Linked DNA regions of Homo sapiens: region 2 is linked to region 1. The links are contacts of gene promoters, found by promoter capture Hi-C in blood cells and fetal thymus (Javierre and others, 2016). All regions are on one chromosome and are shown on one strand. The core of a region is centred on a gene start or on the middle of the fragment in contact, and the rest is flanking DNA. Distances in the headings are between cores, read along the strand shown.

Evidence for each region. Contacts are between HindIII fragments. The CHiCAGO score rates a contact against its expected background, and 5 or more counts as called.
Region 2: a fragment that was not itself captured here is called in contact with the fragment with the promoter of KRTAP4-2 in region 1 in 1 of 17 cell types (total CD4 T cells); the score reaches 5.5 in total CD4 T cells.

What each region holds. Positions count from the first base shown.
Region 1 is chr17:41,176,926-41,179,625 of GRCh38, forward strand. It overlaps KRTAP4-2 (keratin associated protein 4-2), which reads right to left and starts at 1,296. Exons shown (of 1, transcript NM_033062.4): 1 at 521-1,296. The coding sequence starts at 1,239. The coding sequence ends at 829. The HindIII fragment of the contact is 17,641 bases long and covers 1-2,700 here.
Region 2 is chr17:41,632,541-41,635,240 of GRCh38, forward strand. It overlaps the pseudogene KRT42P. Among named protein-coding and RNA genes, the nearest start is that of KRT17, 9.3 kb to the left of the region's middle. The HindIII fragment of the contact is 4,882 bases long and covers 1-2,700 here.

The DNA of each region.
Region 1 (2,700 bases), core at 46-2,545:
GTGCTCTCTGGGGCAAACCCACAAAAGAGGATCTGAGAACATGTGGTATATTTGGACGATTAACCCAAGAAACACTGGAGGAAACTTGAAGAATGACCCTGGGAAGGAGGGAAAGTCATTATAGAGTGAGTTCATGATCAGAATGTTCCTGCAGGCATCTGGTATAAATCCCGCTGAAGACCTCTGGAAGACTGGTTTGACATACCCCCCACTGGAGGGAAACAAGCCAGGGCATATATTACCAACTCCCACTCATTCTCTGAGTGCTGTTCCTAGAGGCTTTAAGTCTCCAGCCCAGAGTTTGCTCCTTTATCCAGAGAAAGTCCTCAGGTAGAGAGTTCCAGGTGCCTGCTCTAAGGAACCATTTTCCTATGTTTGAATGGAGAGTGCTGATAGGATAGAGGTGGAGCCCCTGATATCATCTGCTGTGGTCTTCTCCCTCTGCAGGGAAGAACATCAGAAAATTTGACAGGTAAGGATGAGAATTCAAGAAGGAAAAATGAGACACAATGCCCGTATATTATTTGTATGCCTCAAAAATTAAAATTTATTTAAGATAGAGGAATAGCTCCATGTGATAAATTATGGTAGAGAGCAAATATTTCAATTCAGGGAACATGGGGTTGACATATTTCAGAGAAAATTCAAACTTGTATTCATTTGGTAGAGGGTAGCAACATAGTGTTTGGTGAGCATATTTGGAGGCCAAACTCAATCCAAGAATTGGTTGGAACTGAGGTTGTCCAATTGGCCTTGCATGATTCAGTTCACAGGTGGATCATATCAAGAATGCTGGTTAATAAAGGCAGGTGAGTATAGGTGAGGGCATCAGCAGCAAGAGCCACTAGAGCAGGTTGGGCGGCAGCAGGTGGACACACAGCAGCTGGGGCGGTAGCAGGTGGTCCTGCAGCAGGTGGTCTGGCCACAGCTGGGGCGGCAGCAGGTGGGCTGGCAGTACACAGACTGGCAGCACTGGGGTCTGAAGCAGCTGGACACACAGCAGCTGGGACGGCAGCAGGTGGTCCTGCAGCAAGTGGTCTGGCAGCAGCTGGGGCTGCAGCAGGTGGGCTGGCAGCACACAGACTGGCAGCACTGCGGTCTGCAGCAGCTGGACACACAGCAGCTGGGGCGGCAGCAGGTGGTCCTGCAGCAGGTGGTCTGGCAGCAGCTGGGACGGCAGCAGTTCTCTAGGCCACAGCCCTGGTCAGAGCACACAGAGCCACAACAGGAGTTGACCATGGTGTCAGAGGGTGGAGGTTCTGGGTGGATTTCCAGGAAGGTGGGTTTGGAAGGTTTGGAAGTTTCCTTGCCCCAGATCCTCTTTTATACCCTGCTAAGGCCTGATGTCATCAGATGCAACACTCTTTCCTTGTTATTATTTGTCCTGATATGTAGGCAATTATCAAATTAGGCAAGTTTGTTGTTCTGGTTAACTTATCCACATAGATGGAAACACTGTCTCCTTTCCCTAATGTGTTAGGACTCCTTAGCTCAGCTCTTCCTGAACCACCTCCTGTGTCTCTCTTACTATAGCTTCCTCCTAGAGCAGCCATGTGACATCTGCCTGTAAGCACATACTATGTGCTTCAGTCTCATTTGCTTAACACATCATGACTACTCTTGGGTGATTACTATTCTTACAGGCCCTTGACTCTTTCTGGTGACTCAGGAGGATAAAGCTGCATTTCAGTCTGATGGCTCCTTCATTATGGGTCAGATGGCCTGTGAAGGTTTCAGTGTGAAACAGATTTCAGTGTGAAACAGATGACCACTGGTGTGAGAACGAGAACACCGTAGGACCTATCGCTTTTTTATCTTCCGCACTCTGAATTGTGACCCATTTTCTAGACCTTCTGATGAGAAATACAGAGCTGTTTTAAGGTGGAAAACTAAGCTGTGAAAGTTTGATGTTTCCTTTTCTACAGAAACAACCCTCCAAAATTCAGATTCAGGGCCTCTTGGGGAATGTTGGCTTCAGAGAACAGCTATACTTAAAGGTCCAAGTCCCTCATTTTTTTGCTCCCTGGGGCAGATTTTCCTTGTGACTTTGCCTTTCTGCCTTCCTAGCTCTAACAGGGCACATGAGCTCATCTCTCCAGGTTCCAAAATTTTCTGGCCAACCCAAATTAGATGACTCAGTATCCTTTGCTTGCTCTAATTCGCTCCCAGCCCTCTTGCTTTCTCTGCTGAATTGCTGGGCCTTGAAGATGTCCTATACTCTGCTGCTTCCTTATAGAAGTTGTTGATCCAATTTCACACTTTACATCTTTGTTTTCAAAAAATAAATCAATAAAGAGAGAAAGAAAGCAGAAAACAGGTATCAAGAACAAAGGATATCAGCCTATATTTTTTCATGTAGGGATGGCTGACTATTGTTTCAAAAATGTGCTATGTTGTCAATTCATTAACTCATCAGTTAATAAATATATATGTATTTCCCCACCCCTGAGGAGTCAAGGAACCCAGGGAAGGGGGTGGAAAAATGTCTGACTTACCATGATAGAAATGTTTTATGAACTGGGCAGCCTCTGCAGATAATCAGGGGAGGAGTTTCAGTGTAAGCTGGTGTTTCTGAGGGAGATCCAAGAACCAGATGGAGGGGATTGGATGAATGAGGGAGATTCCCTTTCTTCTCTCAGGTGCTTATAAGTCTAATAAATCAAATTGTGGTGTTCTTATGATGCTGCTATGTTCCAAGCC
Region 2 (2,700 bases), core at 179-2,678, 460 kb after region 1:
ATGAGAGAGAGTGTGTGTGTATGTGTGTGTGTGTGTGGTGTGTGATGTGTGTGTGGTGTGTGGTGTGTGATGTGTGTGGTGTTTATGTGTATGTAGTATGTGTGTATGTGGTGTGTGTGGTGTGTGGTATGCATGTGGTGTGGTGTATATGTGTGTGTGGTGTGTATGTGTGTGTGAGATCTGTGTGTATTGTGTGTGTGGTGTGTATATGCGTGTGGTGTGTGTGGTGTGTGGTACATGGGTGGTTGTGGGTATATATGTGTATGGTGTGTGTGTAGTGTGTATGTGTGTGGTGCGTGTGGAATATGTGTGGCATGTGTGGTGTGGGGTGTGTGTGTGGTGTCTGTGTGTATGTGTATGTGTGTGTGGTGTGTGTGGTGAGTGTGTGTGTGATGTATCTATGGTGTGTATGGTGAGTATGTGTGTGGTGTGTGTGGTGTTTGTGTATGTGTGTGATGTGTTTGGAGTGTGTGTGTGGTGTTTGCGTGTGTCTGTGATGTATATGTGGTGTGTGCGTGATGTGTGTGTGGCGTGTATGTGTGTATGTGTATGGTCTGTGTGGTGTTTGTGTGTGTATATGTGTGTGATGTGTGTGTGCTGTGTGTCTCTGATGTGTGTGGTGTGTGTGTGGTGTGTGTGCGTGTACGTGCGCGTGTATGTGTGGTGTGTGTGGTGTGTATGTGTGTGATGTTTGTGTAGTGTGTGATGTGTATGAGTGTGTGTGTGGTGTGTGGTATGTTTGGGTGGGTGTGTATATGTGTTGGAGAGGGTGTGGGGGGTTTGGGGGGGTGTGTGACTAATATGTGTGGAGGGGGTGTTGGGGGTGTGGTGGGTATATGTGTAGGTGTGTGGTATGTGTGTGTGTATGTAGTATGTGTGTATGTGGATGTGCCTGTGAGCTATGTGTGAATGTGTATATAGGAGTCTTTTAGTGTGTGTGTATCGATCGGTGGGCATGCGCCTGTGTGTGAATCTGGGAGTGTGAGGTGTGAGTGGGGCGCGTGGCGTTTGGGGTAGTGTGTGATGTGTATGGTGTGTGGTGTTTGTGTGTGTGTACGTGTGTGCTGTGTGTGGTGTGTGTGTGGTGTTTCTGTGTGTGTATGTGTGTGATGTGTGTGGGGTGTGTGTGGTGTTTGTGTGTGTACGTGTGTGGTGTGTGTGTGGTGTTTGTGTGTATGTGTGTGATGGTGTGTGTGGTGTGTGTGGTGTTTGTGTGTGTGTATGTGTGTGTGTGGTTGTGTGTGGTGTTTGTGTGTATGTGTGTGCTGTGTGTGTGGTCAGTAAGGTTCTGCATGGTCTTTTCACCGCCCCCGCAGCAGGGCATCCGCCACGTCAACGCTGGAGCCAAAGCCCCCACCCAGGTTACAGGTGTAGCCACCGCTGTAGCCTCCCCCAAGTCCCACCAAGAAGCAGGAGGAGGTGACCGACATGTTGCCACAGCTGCTGACTCCCAGGAGGCTGGCGAAAGGCACCCCCAACACTGACAGATGACATCCAGGAGAAACCCCCGCCAGGTGTCCACAGGCCCTTGACAGAGCCAGAGGTGGAGAACTGGCAGATGCTGGTAGTGGTGACAACCAGGGTGTCCATGGGTCGGGTGAAGAGTCTGGTCTGGATGGAGACCCTGGGTAGCCCGTTACAGCCGGGCTGAAGTGGGGCTGGGACCCTGGCCCTTGAAGTTCAGGCCAAAACCCCAGGAGTGTATTTTGCCTCCTCCCACCCACCCAGGGCCTGGGGCTCAGGCTGGACATATTGAGAGCCTCCCCAAGGACCCCTCCATAGCAAGAGCCCAGCCTGAGCACCAGGGCCTCAGCGGTCTGTTCAGACACAAAGGTGGTGGCCAGGCACGGTGGCTCACGCCTGTAATCCCAGCACTTTGAGAGGCAGAGGCAGGTGAACCACCTGAGGTCAGGAGTTTGAGACCAGACTGGCCAACATAGCAAAACCCCATCTCTACTAAAAATACAAAAATTAGCTGGGCGTGGTGTCACGAACCTGTAATCCCAGCTACTCAGGAGGCTGAGGCAGGAGAATAGCTTGAACCTGGGAGGTGGAGGTTGCAGTGAGCCGAGATCACACCATTGCACTCCAGCCTGGGCAACAAGAGTAAAAATCTGTCTCAAAAAAGAAAGAAAGAAACAAAGGTGGTGCTGGTCTGTAGCCCTGGGGTAGGGTGACCCTCCATCCTCAGCCACAGTTAGGAGGCTGAGCTTATTCTTGTGGGGAGCCCGGAGAACCCAGCCCTGGGAGCCAGCACGGGCACAGGACAAGGCTGCACAGGCCAGGAGCCGGAGGCTGGCCTGGCCCCTCACCCAGCATTCCAGGGCCCTGGGGTAAGGGTGGAGAGATCGGGGCCTGACATCATTGCCCAGGTACAACGTGGCCCTGGTGGAGACTCCCAGTCAGAGGAGGCAGAATTAGCCTCTGACCTGTGGGAGCCCCACTCTCTTGGGATTCTTCCAAGTCCGCGGGGAGATACAGCCCACAGGTTCAAGGATCCCTGTGTCTGAGGGAAATAGACGTGGCCGCTGAACTGAGGGAGCTTTGGATCCAAGCCTTTCAGGAAGTCAGTTCTAGAGCCTCCGTTCCCTCGTTTGTAAAAGGGGGACCAAGTCTTGTCTCCCAAAGTCTTTGAGGGAATCTGGAGAGATAATGACGTCAGTAAGGCTCTAACAAAACAGGAAGCAGAGGTGGGGCTGG